6 separate regions of the Homo sapiens genome follow, and all the other regions are linked to region 1. Evidence: promoter capture Hi-C in 16 types of primary human blood cells and fetal thymus (Javierre and others, 2016). All regions are on one chromosome and are shown on one strand. Each heading gives the region's core, a stretch centred on a gene start or on the middle of the fragment in contact. The rest is flanking DNA. Distances are from core to core; before and after follow the strand shown.

The links. The method cuts DNA at HindIII sites, captures the fragments that hold promoters and counts their contacts. A CHiCAGO score of 5 or more calls a contact.
Region 2: a fragment that was not itself captured here is called in contact with the fragment with the promoter of ARG1 in region 1 in 4 of 17 cell types (non-activated CD4 T cells, naive CD4 T cells, total CD4 T cells and 1 more); the score reaches 7.8 in non-activated CD4 T cells.
Region 3: a fragment that was not itself captured here is called in contact with the fragment with the promoter of ARG1 in region 1 in 3 of 17 cell types (activated CD4 T cells, M2 macrophages and naive CD4 T cells); the score reaches 5.5 in activated CD4 T cells.
Region 4: a contact is called between a fragment that was not itself captured here and the fragment with the promoter of ARG1 in region 1, in 13 of 17 cell types (naive CD8 T cells, fetal thymus, total CD4 T cells and 10 more). The highest score is 14.3, in naive CD8 T cells.
Region 5: a fragment that was not itself captured here is called in contact with the fragment with the promoter of ARG1 in region 1 in 4 of 17 cell types (naive CD8 T cells, non-activated CD4 T cells, naive CD4 T cells and 1 more); the score reaches 8.6 in naive CD8 T cells.
Region 6: a fragment that was not itself captured here is called in contact with the fragment with the promoter of ARG1 in region 1 in 1 of 17 cell types (fetal thymus); the score reaches 5.3 in fetal thymus.

Annotation. Positions count from the first base shown.
Region 1 is chr6:131,571,804-131,574,692 of GRCh38, reverse strand. ARG1 (arginase 1) reads right to left here and starts at 1,467. Exons shown (of 8, transcript NM_000045.4): 1 at 1,354-1,467. The coding sequence starts at 1,410. It also overlaps a transcript of MED23 not described here. RefSeq lists an enhancer at 1,500-2,001. The HindIII fragment of the contact is 9,894 bases long and covers 1-2,889 here.
Region 2 is chr6:130,846,449-130,849,337 of GRCh38, reverse strand. The region is part of intron 19 of EPB41L2 (erythrocyte membrane protein band 4.1 like 2); the gene reads left to right. Among named protein-coding and RNA genes, the nearest start is that of SMLR1, 20 kb to the right of the region's middle. RefSeq lists an enhancer at 220-359. The HindIII fragment of the contact is 154 bases long and covers 1,331-1,484 here.
Region 3 is chr6:130,862,729-130,865,617 of GRCh38, reverse strand. It overlaps EPB41L2 (erythrocyte membrane protein band 4.1 like 2), which reads left to right. Exons shown (of 20, transcript NM_001431.4): 17 at 1-82; 18 at 1,900-1,980. Among named protein-coding and RNA genes, the nearest start is that of SMLR1, 37 kb to the right of the region's middle. RefSeq lists an enhancer at 1,775-2,069. The HindIII fragment of the contact is 1,466 bases long and covers 675-2,140 here.
Region 4 is chr6:130,886,606-130,889,494 of GRCh38, reverse strand. The region is part of intron 11 of EPB41L2 (erythrocyte membrane protein band 4.1 like 2); the gene reads left to right. Among named protein-coding and RNA genes, the nearest start is that of SMLR1, 61 kb to the right of the region's middle. The HindIII fragment of the contact is 1,757 bases long and covers 482-2,238 here.
Region 5 is chr6:130,905,033-130,907,921 of GRCh38, reverse strand. The region is part of intron 5 of EPB41L2 (erythrocyte membrane protein band 4.1 like 2); the gene reads left to right. Among named protein-coding and RNA genes, the nearest start is that of SMLR1, 79 kb to the right of the region's middle. The HindIII fragment of the contact is 517 bases long and covers 1,091-1,607 here.
Region 6 is chr6:130,929,753-130,932,641 of GRCh38, reverse strand. All of the region lies in intron 3 of EPB41L2 (erythrocyte membrane protein band 4.1 like 2), which reads left to right. Among named protein-coding and RNA genes, the nearest start is that of SMLR1, 100 kb to the right of the region's middle. RefSeq lists an enhancer at 985-1,154. The HindIII fragment of the contact is 4,313 bases long and covers 1-2,889 here.

The sequences.
Region 1 (2,889 bases), core at 218-2,717:
ACTTGTACCTCCTTTAGGTGAGGACAAATACTTATATGTTGGCCATTTTATCCTCTCTACTCTATGACTTAGTGTAAAAAATCTCTCTCTCTTAGTCCTTACAATCATGAGACAATGAACTCCATTCTCATGACCATGTTTTAATGGGAGGAGGGTGGTAGAAGGAGGACACTTGCTTCCCTTTTGTGAGGTTTTTAAATTATATATTTATTATAACCTGTTCAAGAGTGGGTGAGAACAGTGTGGATTTTAAAAGGAACATTTCTGTGTCAGCAAAATGTCCCTGTGTTTGGGAGAGACTTTTGGAGGATTTCCAGGGGAAGCAAAGTAGTATTTACTGACAGTCCAAATGCAGTTTGGGCCTCTAACCTCTGGCCTCTCTCAATTTGTTTTGCAGTAAAAAGTCAGAGTACACAGCAAGGGTTCCAAATTAAGAGGAAGCAAAACGCTGCCCAGATCCTGAGAAACCTGGAGAAAATCAACCTTAGTAGTTTCAACTCATACATTGTCTTGTTTGATTTTGTTCTTTGTTTTTTATCCTCTTTAAGCACAGATGCGTGTTGAAGTCTAAGGTGTTCTGTCATCACACTCTCTTTACTAGAATAAGTGTGCCCAGGCAGAAAAAAAAGTGTATTCAATGTTGCTGGCATGTGTGGATTCACAGCTCGTGGCTGTAAGGAAATCTGGGGGTTTCATAAATCCATTAAAATCCTTTTAGAGTTGCCAACCCGCAGTAGGATTTTCTTTCTTTTTTTGTTCTTTTTTTCCCCTTCCAAGTGAGGCACATAAAGGATTCTACCTAGTCCATGAATGAACAGTTTCATAGAAACATTAAAACCCTAACATAACATGAATTATTCACAAAGTTGCATGAAACAATAATATTTAGGTTATCCAAATTATAAGAAGCCTGAAGGTTACCACCAAACTATTAAATTTTTCTAGGCATTAATTACATAACTAAACAAATGTATTTCTTAAAATTCTCTCTTCCTCTACATACACACAGTAACATCAAAAACAACAAGAGCAACTAAACCTCAATGAGTAGCTACAATGCAGAAAGAGTCCATTTCAATTCAAAGAAAAATATTTTCTCCTAAAAAATATGAGAAAACATTCTGTAGGTTCAAATGAATTTAGCCTTGGCTGAGATCACGAGCCACAAAAGTAAGTGGATATGTGACTATAATTATACAATGTTGGAAAATGGTGAGAGGACTTTAAAATATGCATTTCCTGGCCAGATTGTATCAGAAAACTGAACTAACTAGACAATAACACCTTACAAATTTTGAAGTCCAAAATTTTCAACTAAATTCCAGGAATTCAAAGAAAGACTTTTTTCCTTACCTGTCCCTTTGAGAAAGGAGCTCCAATAATCCCTATGGTTCTGGACTTGGCGCTCATGCTCTGACACTTCTCTTTGCTGCACTTGAGCTCTCCAGTCAGTCAACCCTCAGTGACAGAGGGCGCATCTTTTTTTTCCATTTATACTTGGGTTGAATAAACAACCTTTATCTAATGAGGACAGCTGGCTCCACCCACTAAACCAAAGAATGACAGTCAACAGTCTTGCAATTTTTCATACATGGAGTAACTATATGGTTACTCCATGTATGAAGTAACTATATGGGGTTACTTCATACATGGAGTAACCTAACTCTGAGTCTAGGTCTCTAATCAAGTGACAATTATTCATGTTCTCACTTCACACCCTTTTAAAAAGCCAGCCAGATGACATTAACCTGACTTCAACAACTGACAAGTTTCACAACTACAGAAGAAGTCCTATTGTTCTGGCTCAGCGAACTCAGGGCAAGGCCCTTTCCTCCTCCAGATCTCTGAAGACGTCCTTGTAGAAGAAGGGCCGGGCTTGGCAAGATCGTCTGTCACATCCCTTCCAGCCCTAAAATCCTGAGTTGAGATTTCACACATGAGGGTAAATGGTTAATCCATGAGACACATTTCATAAACTTTTAGGGTATAATATAATAAAGAGTATATAACTTCCTTTTTTGATGATTACTTTAAAAAATTAGTTACTTGATTGGTAACCCAGAGAGGTTACCATTTTTGAAGTATGGTGTACAGGAAAATAATTGTAGAATCATATCATAATCAAAGTATAGAAATAAAAATAGCTAACATTGAGTTTTTACCATGTGTCCGATGCAGTTCTGTTTCAAAATACCATATTTATATTTATACCAATTTTATGTGAAGTCTCATCATTGGTGCCATTATACTGATGAATAAACTGAAGCTCAGACCCGTTGCCAACATAGGCTGTAGAAGAAAAGTCGGGATTTAGTCTCTGCCATTCTGAATCCACTTAACCGTCGAGCTTATAGTCTAAATGCTGGGAAGGTGTCAACCTCTATGCCCCTGAGCTACCATTTGTCACCATACAAAAGTATGAATTTAAAATAAAGGCACCTTAAAGATCCTTCCGACTTTAAAATTATGTAATTGTAATTTAAAGGGAAAATTCACTTAGTAGAAACTAATTTCTTTTTCCTATTGGTGGGAAAGAACATTTTGGAATTTAAATTCCATGAGGTCAGAGAATTTTGTCTGCTGTATCCCCAGGGCCTAGAAGAGTGTTGGTGTATAATAGGCACTCAATAAATATTTATTGAATGGATAAATGAGGAAACCAAAGTCTCATGGGTCCATTTTGATAGGACTGTTTTCCAAATAGGTTTCCTACCTTTTTCTTGTGGGTTTGCTTGTATATCCTAAATATTTACTTGTGGTATTCCTCATATTGCCTAGATATTAACCTTATAGCATTGACATTGCAAATAACTTTTCCCAACCTGTCAGAAATCTGATAACTTTTTATATGTTATCACTCAAAATCCTCAATTTTAAAATAGACACTTG
Region 2 (2,889 bases), core at 158-2,657, 730 kb after region 1:
TGTTTTTTGTTTTGGCCTAAAGGGTATATCTTAGAATTTGAATCAATTATTAGTGCTTAAACATTAGAAGATAGTCAGCAATTTTAGAAAAATCAGAAGCTCTGATGACATTGAGCCTGCTCTCCCTGTGGTTACTATGCTGGAGCTTAGTAGGTGTGGCCAGCATCAGGCTGGGAGGAGCTCTCTAGGTCACCACAGTGCTACTGCCTGTCATATCCTGTCTTTATGTTGAGGCCCTTGGGGCCCAGTCTCCTTATGCATATATGTTACCCATCTGGCCTCTGACCGTGTTGGGGTGGTGGTTATGACTTTGTTACCCTGTCCTAGGCTGTGTTTGAGAGTCTGGAAATGTAAAGAATATTTAATGTTAAACTGCCTGTAGAGCATCTTCGTGTCTCTCCTCTAACCTTCTTTATAAGGAAATAGGATCCTAGACATTAACGTAACTGTCATAGGTCACCTGTGCTAAGTATAGATTGATTTATCTCAAGGCTTTTCTGTTAGATACCCCAGATACCAATTGTTTAAACATGTAAATTTTGTGGGTGGCATCAGAGGGGAATTTTACTATGGCAACTAATTAACAAGTTTGTGTATGTGTGTGTTTTTGTAAAGATACTCCTGTCCTTACGAGGATTACAGTCCAAGGACATATTGATGCTTTCTTGCATCAAAATAGTTGAGTTAGCATTAGAGCACATGGAAGTCTGGACCTGTTCTGTCCAGTATGGTAGCCAATACCCACTTGTGGCTATTGAGCACTTGAAATGTGGCTAGTTCAAATTGAGATATGTTGTAAGTATAAGATATTTACTGGATTTCAGACATGAGAAAAAAGTAAATTATTTCTAATTTTTAAATTAATTACTTATTGAAATAATAATTTGGATATATTGGGTTTAATAACTACATTAAAATTACATATACATGTTCCTTTTTATTTTTTGAAATGTGGCTTCTAGAAAATTTACATATGTGGCTCACATTCATTGCTTGCAGTATATTTCTCTTGGACAGTGTTGATCTGTGGAGGGTAGGAGGGATGAAGTGAGAGGACAACCTTAAACTAATATGGCACGATGCAGTTTAGATTCTGTGTGTGTGTGTGTGTGTGTGTGTGTGTGTGTGTGTGTGTGTGAGAGAGAGAGAGAGAGACAGAGAGAGACAGAGACTGTTAGGGGGCAGGGAATAGTGTTTTAAGCTATCTTTATTTAACTTTGAGGAAAAGTGATTTTTTTCCCATGTTCCCTCAGATAAAAAGTGAGAAAGTTGGGTCTAGAAATTTCTTTTGATTCCCACTAACCTTCCTTTTTTCTAAAAGATGAAAGCTTTGTTAGTTTGTATTTTTAAGCTCTTATTTGATGCTACAGAGAAATGTTTTCTCATTACTACCCATCTTATGAACCTAAGTGACAAAAGCTCAGCTCTAATAGAGTATACTGAGTGGAGCCTGACCATAGTTCATTTGTTATTTAAAAGAAGCTTTAAGATTTTGTAGAACGCTTTTATATCAAATTCCCAGAAGATTTGACCTAGCAGAGTGAACCAGAAGACCTTAACAGCTTTAGGGCCGGCACTACTACTTTTAGAAACTTGTGTTACGGCTTCAGTGATTTGAGGAAACCAGTTTTTTAAAGAAGTAAGAGTCCTCATGGGATATCATAGATATAGTTAATCAACAAAAGAGAACAGAAAAATGAACCTGATGTTTTTCTACTTAAACAAGAAAATTGGCAGATGAGAGTAATGGTAAACATGGGAATTAGTGCTTCTTCCTAAAGATATAATGCAATTCTGTTGTTTTTTTTCCCTGCCGTTTCCTCAAGCTCTTATTCTTCAGTCTTACGTTACAAATTAGTCCCTGATACTTTCACTTCTGGATTCATTAATCTATATTATGAGCCTGTTATGTTCAAGGGACTATTATAGTTGTGTGTGAGAGGGGAAGGCATAGGAACATGCATAAAAATAATGTTCAGGGCACAAAAATAGTATATTTGAAGAGAAGCCTAGATAAAGGGCTGTGGAAGTTGACAGGAGAAATGCTTCTGATTGGCCAAACAAGACAAAGCTCTCCAGAAAGGTTGCAGGAAAGCTCCTCTGTGCAAAGCACCAAGGGCAATCTGGATAGTTGGAGATTGGGGAGGGAAGAAAGAGCACATGGGAAAACAATGGGAAGGATGTCGGGAAAAGCAAACCTCCATCGTGGTTATGTATAGAGTTCTCAGCACAGCTGGAAACATTTGTTGAAGGCAAATTGCAGATGGTCTTACATGCCATGTCCTTTAGTAATATGAATTTATCAGTAGTGTGTATGATTGACTGAAAAGCTTCTAGATTAGATGAAGTACCCTGTAAAGAAATCAAGATACTGGTTCAGACAGTTAGTAATGGGGATACTGAACTGGACATCTCTAAGAGTAAGATTGAATTTAACTTGGAAGCAAAGCCAGGAGTAAAATATCATAGGAACATCTATAAAAGTTAAATCCGATATTTTTTTGCTTTTCAGTCAGATGAAGCTCAGTATCTTTATTACTATTTGAAGTAAAGTTATATTAGCATGTAGGCCTTTGAGAGTAATACAGTTCATTCAGAGGACACAGGGCTCAGGAAGGTCAACCCAGTCCCAAAAGGCCTGAAGATGGGACTTGGGCCTTAAAGGACCCACAGAAGAGCCTCCTAAGAAGGTGGGGTCTCCAAACAGCATGAACATGTTCCAGCAAACCAGGAAAAGCAAAAGCATTTTGCTGAATTATTTGTAGAACAGATACTGTGCTTCATTTGACTGCAGAGAAAAACACTGGATTTAATTTCTCCCTGTACTCAGCAGATACACAAATATCTGTGACAGAAGAAAACGGCAGTAGTTTAGTGATAGCAGATTGG
Region 3 (2,889 bases), core at 158-2,657, 710 kb after region 1:
TGGTGATTCGGGCACGTTACTGACCGCACAAACCATCACATCTGAGTCCGTGTCAACAACGACAACCACACACATCACCAAGGTAAAGCAATGCAGGGGATCATATGGAGAGGATGGTACATTACAGACAGAATCTTTTCTGAATTGTTTCTCTCTTCCTGTACACACTTCCAAGTAAGATACAGACAGTGCCAGCGGAATCAAAATGCCTTGGTTTAAAGTATCCAAGAAATTAGGCTCCATTGACAAATGCATTCAAGCCAAATTGCAATTTTGTGAAGTACAAGGGGGTAAAAATATGTTACGAATAGCTATATGTAAGATAGCTACAAAACCATAAATAATTTAATAAAATTTATAATTTATAAAAACAAACTTGTGCTTCTACTTTTATTAAACCAGCCCTCCTGACTAAAGCGAATGAATGAAGGCCATCATTCAGAATTTTCAGCAAGTTGTTCAAATAATGTAGAATTTCCCTCATTTAAGATCGCTAGTATACTGATTTGGGGCATTCCCCTGTTCCTCCCTGCATAATTCTCTAAATGTTTAGCACTGGGTAACCAGTCATCCCTGGATCAGCAGCATCAGCTTCACCCGGGGCATTGTTAGAAGTATAAATAGCGTGGCCCCACTCCAGTCCTCCTGAAACCTTAGAATTGTCTTAAGAAGCTTCCAGTGATTCTGATGCATGCTGAAGTCATCAGCTTTCTAACTCCAGCCTTATTTTCCACTATTTCCTTCTTCTGTTTTTTACTTTGGATAAGTGTCTAAAGGTCTTAAAGGTGTCCCTTGTGCCCTTCCCAACCCATGTTTCAACAACAATTTAAAAAACAGCAAAAGTAATTTGTAAATTTAAAAATGCCGCATAAATGCAAGGTACTGTTGGTGCTCATTTTAAAGCATATCCAGTTATTAAGCATAGTGATAAGCCTGGTTTGTTATGGTAAAATGCTGTCACTTGTGACTGAGAGTGTACATTTATCAGAGTTGTAAATGTTGGATGTGCGCTTTCCCAGGACCGTGTGGTATTTGCTTATTGACTGTTTAGAAGGTCACAGCCAGATGATCTCCTCAGCCTCATCCAGTGTGCCCCAGGCACTCGCAGCTTGTACGGAGCCCATAACGCTGTGAGGCAGTTCCCCCAGGAGCTCCCTCCTCCAGCCCCGCTCGCAGCCTTTGTCTAGCCATGCGCCATGTCTACGTGTATGACTACTTACGCAGGGTGTCATCAAATCAAACATTCAACAAAAATCTCATCCATCTTCCGTATCTGAAACCAAAGCAAATCCTTTTTAAAATTATTGCACTAAATGCAATAAACAAAATCAGCAAATAAATTTGTATGCTCAGAATCCATCAGTCAAAACCATCACATCATACAGAAGTCTTCTGTGATGGGAAAAAAATATATATCACATCAAACAGTTTCTCAAACCAAAAACAGATACCTAAATTCTTATAATTTCTTGTAATTCTGCAAGTAACTGATTTCTCCCTACTCTCCTTTTTAAAAATTGGCCAGCTAGGAGTAAAGAAACTCGGGAAACTATAACAGAATTCCCTTAAAGGAACTACTTGGATTAAATAATATCTGTCCTATCTTAATCAAGTGAGATTAAGATGGGACAGATGCCATCTTGAATATTGATAAATGAGTTTTAAGGTTGCTCTCAGCTGAGGGATACTTGTGGATGCTATAACTTTAGTAATAGGATTCTCTATTGAGCCTAAAAATAAAGCACAAAGTGTTTCTAGAATATCAGTCTTTTGCTGCTTGTTGTGTGTGGCCTTACAATGATCCACAGGTCTAGGTGGACTCCCATCTCTGTTTGCTCTGACTGTGTAAACGTGCTTCAGTGATTGCTGTTTTTTCTTCTTCTCCTTTATGACCTTTAGACTGTAAAAGGTGGAATTTCTGAAACAAGAATTGAGAAACGCATTGTGATCACAGGAGATGGAGATATTGATCATGACCAGGTAAATAAGTTAAGTTCTAGTTTTGGAAATGGCCCTGTTTGTTTTCTAAGTTTCACATTTGTCATCATGTCGCATACCTGTGTAAACCTCTTCTCCCCAAACCTCCTGGATGAAGTCCACCTCCTAAGCAGGACATAAAGACACAGCCTGGATACAAGCTTTCCTACCTCTGAATCAGAATAAAACACAGATTTCTCTTTATTTCCCACTGGCTTTACATGCACTTTTGGGTCAACGTAATCTGGAGGATTTCTGGAAAACATAAGATTCGTGTGGGCCTGGTTTAAAGGCAAGTGATCAAATATTTAAAAATGAATGGCAGTTCAATGCACCAGTTTCCAAAAAATGAAGAAAGCCACTAAGCTTGACCTATGCCTACTTTTAGGAACTTTTCAAGTATATTTATGGCATTAGAAAAGTTGAGCTATTTACTTCCAGGTGTTTTCTCCTATTGCGATTATTGGGGGAGGGGAGGTAATACAAGGTTTCTTACAAAGTGAAAATTTACATTGATTCTGAAAATTTTTTAAAAGAATCATGCCTCCATTCTAATGTTAAATTTGGCAGCATGCATGGCTTTGAGCAGGTGATGAATGGAACTGCTGGAGACTTTGAGAGCAGTTTTAATTTTAGACTGCAGTCCCAAGTGATGCTGACAATTTTTTTAAAAGTGATTTTAACTCAGCTTTAAAGGAGACCAAGCTGTTTTCCTTTTATAACAACTTGAAGAAAAGGAAAAGAAATATTCAATTGACTATCTCAGCTGGGGAGTAGGAGCTAACGATAGTTACACAGCTTTGGACACAATACTGAGCTCAGGAAAGAAAATTTTAGAGAACAAAATTCCTCATTTGAGAAAGGCAGCCTATATGTGATCAGAGATAAATGGATTTTTCATGCCTAAGAAGA
Region 4 (2,889 bases), core at 111-2,610, 690 kb after region 1:
TCTTTAGCCCAAGGGAAAATATGTATAAATGTGAATTTTTTTCTATTAGAATTCTAATTAGCTACATTTTGTAGTTTTATATAAACTACACATGAAATAAGTTTTATATAAACTACACATGGAAAAATATATATATAAATTACCTGGTCCAAAATGGGTTAATAATAGGTTTTCTATAAAAGAGCTAAGGTTAAATTTATATTAGAATGCCTTGTGAAGGAATATTCTTTCTTTGTAATAGAAAATGATTAGTATGGATGATTTTCTACCCAAAGAAATAGTTTTCCAACATTTTTGGTTGATTGAACTAAAATATATATATAATAATAATACTAAATTTGAAAATTGTATTTTACTACTAGTTATTAGCAGAAACATTTTTTCTTGTCTATTGTATTTTTCTGAAATATATGCTCGAACAACTTATATTTTAAATAATTGGAGTAAAACAGATCAAATAATGCTAACAGATGAAAAAGCTTTCTTAATAGTGAAGGATTCATATGGATTGCCTTCATCTGCTTTTTCTAGAAGAAAAACTTGGAAAACAAATGCAGGTGGACACATAGAGATATTTGCCAGGATTTGTTGGTTGGGATTTTGGTATATAGTTATTAAATCCTGAAATGTGCAAGGGGGTGGTGAACTGTGCTTTAAACAAATTTCCAGAATTGTGGAAATGATTTAAATTCAGTTGATTGTTAATGTACTATCACTGCTAAAGTATCTTTTAGGTCTTCAACAACTGAGCACTTTTCCAAGTAAATCTGAAAAATGTGCCAACCCATGTAAATATTTCCCAAGCCTTGCCCCTTGCCACAGAGAATTTATACAAGTGCCGAATAAATGCAGTCACTGTTGTTTAGTACCCTGAGAGAAATGATTGCTCTTTCTGGAACACTGTCTGTTTTCAGCATTTGTTTGAAACTGTGAGGCTGTATAACTCTTATATTGCAAAGTTTAGCATTTAAAAAGAGCAGTAAAACAGCATTTTCTTTGAGGTATACAAACTGTGCTCAAGGAAATCCACCATCTTGTATGGGCAGTTAGTGCAGAGGGTTACAGGAGGTCTGTATCTGAAAACAATGATTTTTCCAAGTGAAAACAACAAACATGGCACAGTAATCCATTATTTTTCTCTTTGTGTTTTGGAGGCCGTAATTCATCAGATGGGTAAGTCATCAAAAGGATTATTGTGTTATTGTGAAAAATAGGAGGCTTTTAACGCCAATACATGACCAGACAGCCAGTGAACTCTTTGATTAGGGCTTATATTCTCCGTTTTTTCCCCCAGAGCAAAGCTAGGCTGTAACCTGGCACTGAGCTTTTATTTTCTTTACCACTCCTTATCAACATACCATTTGTTGTTGTAGTCTTCATGTATTGTATTTTCTTTTTCCTGTTTACTTTTTAAGTAAGGCTAGAATAATTTAGGTATATTAGCCTCACTTTAAAGTTTGGCAAATTAAAATAAATCCTCTTATGATTACATAGCAAGTGAAAAGTGGGATTCAATCTAAAGATCAAATATCAAAATGAAAATCAATCTAGAACAGCTGTTTTAGGACAGGGAGTCCCCTCCGAGATTAGAAAATCAAACCCCAAAGAAGACAAATCAGTCATTTAAGAGAACCAACAACCAAGATGCATTTGGGGGTTGAGGAACCAAGTGATTTCCTGAAGGTGGAAAGTAAAATGAACAGGGACGTTACTTAAATAGGATCATCAGGGAAGGAAGGCCTATTTGAGGAAGAACCAGGTCAGTTGAGACTTGAAGGATGAGAAGGAGGCAGCCAAGGAAAGGACAAGAGATATTTAATAATAAAGCATTCCAGGTAGCAGAGGCGGCAACGATGAAGCTATAAGGTGAGGGAGAGCTGGATACATTCCTGGAACAGAGAGAAGGCAAGTGCAGTCAGAGCTTAGGAAGTGGCGGGAGAGGTAAGCCTGGGTCAGATCATGCAGGGCCTTGGAGGCCATGGTGAAGAATGTGGTTTTTATTTATTCCATATGCTCTAGGAAACCATTGAAGGGTTTATGTGGGTTTATGTGCCCGCAAGAGCACAGCGTTATCTTTTAAAAAAAAAATCATTTGATGCAAGAGAACAATTAGATTGAGCAAGGAAGCAGGCAGGCTGGTTAGGAATGGTCCAGGTGAAAGCGATGGTGGTCTTCCCTTTAGTGGGAGTAGGCCAATTAGCCATTTGGTATCTTGGGCTCTGCCAGGGCCTACAAGCTTCTCAGATGTTTAAGACCTGAATAAATGTATCGGCTTCAAAATACAAGAAACTGCATGCTGAAATTAATAAGTGTTTAAAAGTATGCAAAGTCAGCATTTTGTCAACTTTAATAACTTTTAATTTGATATTCAAATTTTAATATCATTACATTTGAAGCCATTTCTAGGTCAGATTTTTTTCATTTTGCAAAATTTCTGAGTATGTATAATAGGTGTGTAGAAATCATAATTGTAAGCAAAAGAATTAATCATAGCCATATACTTTCCAAGGGAAACTTATTTAGATCTTGTTAGAAGTTTCTTTATTAAAAAAAACTGCTGGAGGCTGGGCACGGTGGCTCACACCTCTAACCACAGCACTTTAGGAGGCCAAGGAGGGCAGATCACAAGGTCAGGAGTTTGAGACCAGCCTGACCAACATGGTGAAACCCCATCTCTACTAAAAATACAAAGAATTAGCCAGGCGTGGTGGCGCGTGCCTGTAATCCCAGCTACTCAGGAGGCTGAGGCAGGAGAATCGCTTGAACCTAGGAAATGGAGGTTGCAGTGAGCCAAGATTGCACCACTGCACTCCAGCCTGGGTGACAGAGCGAGACTGTGTCTCAAAAACAAACAACAACAACAACAACAACAAAAACCGCTGGAAAATA
Region 5 (2,889 bases), core at 100-2,599, 670 kb after region 1:
CCCAGGAGAAACCTCTTCTCCAGGTGCCAGCATGCAAGATGCCCTTTGTACTGTTGATTTCATTTCCTTACTTACTTATTATTCCTAAGGTCAAAATACTGAAACCAATCTGTCCTTTCCCTTCTTGCCCTTTTCATCTACCATCTAGCTCCCATTTTAGGTTCTTCACATTTGTTTTCTTTATTTCTTTCTCTCTCGAATTATTTATCTTTTTGGTAGTCTTCCTGTCATTTCTTTGCTTCCCTACTCTCTTTTTTTATTCTGAGCATATACCTTATTTTTCCCATTTCCTCTTCCTGTAGACTCATCTTTCTTTTCCTTTTTAAAAACGTCTTTGATTAGAGTGACCAACCTCCTGATTTGCCCAGGACTGAGGGGCTTCTCAGGATATGAGACTTTAAGTGCTAAAGCTGGAACCAGTCCCAGGCAGGCTGGAATGGTTGGTCACTATCCTTTTGATTATTATTCCTGGTTTCCCACATTCTCTTTCTTGCATTTATTTTCTTGGTGTTTCATCCATTTATGCTTGCTTCATGATGGAAAAGGGAGAAAAAGAAGAGGAATAAGTAGACACCAGATACATTATGCTTACCTTATGGAAGAAACAGTACCAGAGCTTTGAAACTTTTTCCTTTGTCCCTTCTGCAGTTGTTACTTTGCAAAGTGCATGCATTCAAAAAGGTTACGGATGCTTAGTTCTTACACTTTCTCTGAAACCAGACCTGCCAAGTGACCCAAACAGAGAGAACAGGGCAACCTCTGAAACATGATTGATGTTCCATTGAGTTGTTTCCTATGGTTTTGTTTGGGTTCTTGTTTGATTATTATTATTATTTTTTTTTTGTGCCACTCTCTTCAGAGTCATGGAGATTTCCTAACTTTTGGAAGCCAAACCTCTTGCCGATTATGAATCATGTTCTTATGTTTTGATTATCTGTGAAGTTTCAAAAAGTTATTTCAGAACTTTTACCCTTGTGGTTTGGCAATATGAGTAACAGTAAGATTAGACTTTTTAAAACTGTTGGAACCAGTTCTTTAAATGGCATCCTGTACTGTACCCATCATGAAAGCAGGCTGAGGAAATGAAGCTTTAGCAGTTGTATCTACCTCTTTCTTTCTGTATTAAAATGGACCAAAAAACCTGCCTATTCTATCCTTGGTGTCTGCTATAATTTTATTTTTATTTTTCAGCTCATAGGCAGTTAGCGAAGATAAATATTAATCTTTTTTGAGCTACCTATGACAACCAACAACTTAATGATTCTCATTTAAAATTTGCCTTAAAACCTTTATTTTCTGAAACATAAATAAGACTATATGTCTAAGGCTTGCGTATGACTAGTATGTAAACATTTCTGTAGCTAGAAGGACTGTTTATAAACAGCTAGGTAAAAATTATGATGATAATATGTAATCAAATTAAAAGTTTAACTTGAAAACTGCTAAGGGAGTAGATTTTAAGTGCTCTCACTGCAAAAATAGTATGTGAAGAGTAATGCATATGTTAATTAGGTCAATTTAGCCATTCCACAATGTATACGTATTTTAAAATATCATATTTTGTACCAAAATGTATACCATTTTTAATTGTCAGTTTTAAAAAAGCTTAGCATTATTGGTACATTTCAACAGCTTTTAGATTTGGAAGTATATTAGAAAATATGTGGTCTAGTAGAAATGTCTCCGAGTCCTGTCCAGGCAAGCATGTTCTAGTGTTATTACCTAGAAAACAAACAAGGAGCCATTAAGAAATGATAATCCTGTGATAACTTTACTTAATTCGAGACTAGCAGTCACCTTGAAGAAATGCTTACACAAACACGATGCATGGATATTTGACAGTCATCATGGCGCTATAGGCCAAGAAACCTCATATATCTTGATATTCAGGAAAATCTTATATCCCATTATTATGTTTTAAATGTGTAAAGCAGAACTGAAATCTGCTTCTTAAGTTCAGCAGGATTGACTTCATTGGTTGAATCAGTGGTGCATTGAGCCAAAATCCAGCAAAAAATGCATTTGTATACAACAGTAGCCATTTAATAAATATTTGAGTGAGTGAAAAGGTAGTGTGCTGATGGTAAGACAAAGGACAAAATGCCACACTGAACAAGAGAATGGGATTCAAGGAATTTTTCTTCAGGTTCATAAATTAAACATCTCATAAGGTCTTTAAATATGTATAGAATGGAATAACTTGGCTGGGCGTGGTGGTTCATGCCTGTAATCCCAACACTTTGAGAGGCTGAGGCCGGGAGATTGCTTAAGCCCAGGGATTCGAGACAAGCCTGGCAACATAGGGAGACCCCGTCTCTGAAAGAGTAAAAAATAAGTTAGCCGGACATCGTAGCGCATGCCTGTGGTCCCAGCTACTTGGGAGGCTAGGATGGGAGGATCACTTAGGCCTGGGACGTTGAGGTTGCAGTGAGCCATGATCATGCCACGGCACTGCAACCTGGGCGACAGAGTGAGACTCTGTCTCAGAAAAAAAAAAAAGGAATAACATATATACACACACACATTTTTTTAATTTAAAAATATTATGAACTTGAAGTCAAACTCTAAATTCAGGCTAGTGGAATTATTTGGATTCCATTAGGAAAATAATACCTGCCCTTTCCCCCATAGTTTTACTTTTTTAAAGTTATCCTACACATGATCTATCAAAATAGCAGTTAAATTTTACGTATAAATAGCAGTGTTTTAACTTTTAACAAGCCATTTATGATATGGTTGCTTGACTTATTCATTCTTTATGGCACAATACAGCCAAGTGTATGTTATATACGAATATACTTACACCTACTCTACTAAAACCTGGGAAATAATTGTATTGTCCTAAAGTATCATGAAATTATACCATGCTTTCCCTTCTTGGGATCTCTT
Region 6 (2,889 bases), core at 147-2,646, 640 kb after region 1:
TGATGCAATATTGAGAGATTGGAACAGGCTTCATAGGGAAGGATATTTTGGAGATTTGTATACAAGTAGAGGTAGTTTTGACACTTGTAAATAAATCAGAGGAAAAAAATTAGAATATGTCTTGATAAGTCAGTAAGTGGTTCTCTTTATCTGGGGCAATACCCCAAAATTGCTGTGACAACTAATGAAGCAACTACGTGTACTGGTATCTTAGGTGAAAGTTATGAAGCAAAATTATGTGTATATTTTGCTTGGTTAACAAATGTATATTTGTAGTCCTTTTTATACAGTAGAATTCAAGTTGTTGATTTTTTTTTTTTTAAAAGCAATGTTAATGGAAGAAAATTACTTTCCTGGATAGAAGTGTGGAATATTAGTGTATATTAAGAGCATACATAATAATTTAATTATTTTAAAAGAAATTCAGAAATCAGACTGAAAAATTAGATAAACTTTCTATAACCTTATTTTTCTTATTTGTGAAATAAGAAAGTTTGATTAGATAATGGAAAACTTTAAAATCATATTTAAAATCAATTATTATTTTAGAGCAGCTCAAAAAGGTCTTGTAATTTCAGCTGGCTTTAATGAATCCATGTAATAAGCCAAACATTTTATTGATCACTTTAAACATACTTCATTTAATTATCTCATCACCATTATAAGGTGGGTACTTTTAAAGAGCGGAACTGAGGCATAGAGAAGTTACGTAACTTACTGTGGTTACAGAGCTGTTAAGAGTAGGGCTGGGGGTCAAGCCCAGGACACTGTGATTATACTGCAGTACTTTTCTTCCGTATTGTTAAGAATTGGTGATTCTCAAGAAAGATGGAACATACCAGAATCTCGGGGGAAAGGAAGAACTATTTTGAGGAACAATTTCAACTTACATGCCCCTGTACATTTTTATGTGCTACCATTATGCATTGTGCCTTGGTTCTTCACCCCCACCCCAAAGAGAATTATTATTTATGGAATGTGTTGTGAACAGTGTGAAGACAAAGTTGTGAGCCACTAGATGGTGTTGCTGTCTGAGCCGACCCAATCGAGTTTGATTGAACATTAGTGCTATAAATGTTATAACTTGGAACATTCATATGTAGCATTTAATATGTGTCACCTGATAATCTGATGCTTTTTAGAATATAAGAAGAAATGTACTACTTATTTTGTTTGCCTTTTTGAATAAGCCTCCAAAGCACATCTGTTTTAGGTTTCTTAGGAGTGACTTTTCTGTGTTTTTTTGTTACAATTTTCCTTCTCAGTCCTTCTTTTTATTCCCTAGCTTATGTTTCATTCCCTCTTGTCTTGATGACTTTATTATAGCTATTTAAAAAAATAATGCGTGTTAGAACCTTTTATATGTTGAGTATAAATAATAAATTAGTAGAATAAAATCATTGTAGATTAATAAATTTTATTAATTTTGCTAGGGATTCATTGAGCTTTCTTAATTTGAAGTTTTATAGCGTTGTTTCTTTTAATATTGCCTTTCCCTTATTCTCTCTCATCTCCATCTAGGACTCTGATGAGATATTTGTAGACCCCTCATTCTGTTCTCCATGTCTGTGAAGTTCTTTCATATTGTCCTTCCCTTTGTCTTTCTCAGCCACATTCTGGATAGTTTTTTTCAGATCTATCTTCCAGTTCACTGGTTTTCTCTTCAGCTTTGTCATATCCTGTCCATTTGGATTATAATTTAGTTACTATAGTTTTCATTTCTAGGTGTTTTATTTGATTATTTTCAAAACCTGCTTTTTCATATTCACTTTTTCCTTAGTCATATTTTAAAATATTTCTTATAAACACATAAAACATATATATTTTGTGTTTTGTTCTTGATAATTCTACTATGTGCAGTCTCTGAAGATCTGATTCTGATACTGTGTCTCTCAATAATGGTGTCTGGTTTCCTTGTCGTTTTGTGATTTTTAATGTATGTTTTTTGAGATTTTTGTCTATGAGAATTTCTTGCTTCTCCCAGGCAGCTGGGCATATCTAATCTTGGACCAGTTTAAACTGGATTATCTTTTGGCATTTTTGAATCAAACAGATGTGAATACCAGTGTCTACATCTGCGTTAGAGTCAGATGGTGGTACAGGTTGAGTATCTTTTATCTGAAATGCTTGGGACCAGAAATATTTTGTATTTCAAGTTTTTTCAGATTTTGTAATACTTGAGCACTCCAAATCAAGAAATTGGAAATCCGAAATGCTCCAATGAGCATTTTCTTTGAGCATAATGTTGGCGTTAAAAAACTTTTGGATTTTGGAGCATTTCATATTTTGGGTTTTTGGATTTGGGATGCTCAACCTGTAATTCTTTCCTACCTCATTTAGTGAGGTGTGGTCTTTAAAACAAAAATTCTGTTGTAGAATACATTAGTAAATGTTGTATTAAAAAATAGTGGGCTCTTTTGCTAAATAGTTTTGGGAAACATCAGGTTTCCCAAGTGAAAGGAATAATGGGAAACAGGGTTTTTGCATTGCAGGACTCCTCAGGGTGTCTGTTATACAAATAGGTGTTTTGGTGCTCAGTAATCATATGCAACAAGGAGAATTTTTCTTGTCTCACTCTGCTGCTCTTTTTGGGAATGAGTGGTGTATATAACTCATGGGATGAGTGGGACCAGTGGAAAATAACTTTGGCAAATATAGGTTGGCCTCGTGATACCTTTGGCTTCTGCTAATTGCCTTCTCGCTGTCTTTCCTACTGTTTATACCACTTTATGACTGTGCGTGTATGTGTGTGTGTGTGTGTGTGTGTGTGTGTGTGTGTGTGTGACTGTCTGTCTTGTATTTAATCTCCCTGAGGGAAGTCGTGATTCTATCTGCTATTCCTCATCCCCAGAGCAAAAGATTGTTGTTGTGCAGAGCTCTTGTATCAGG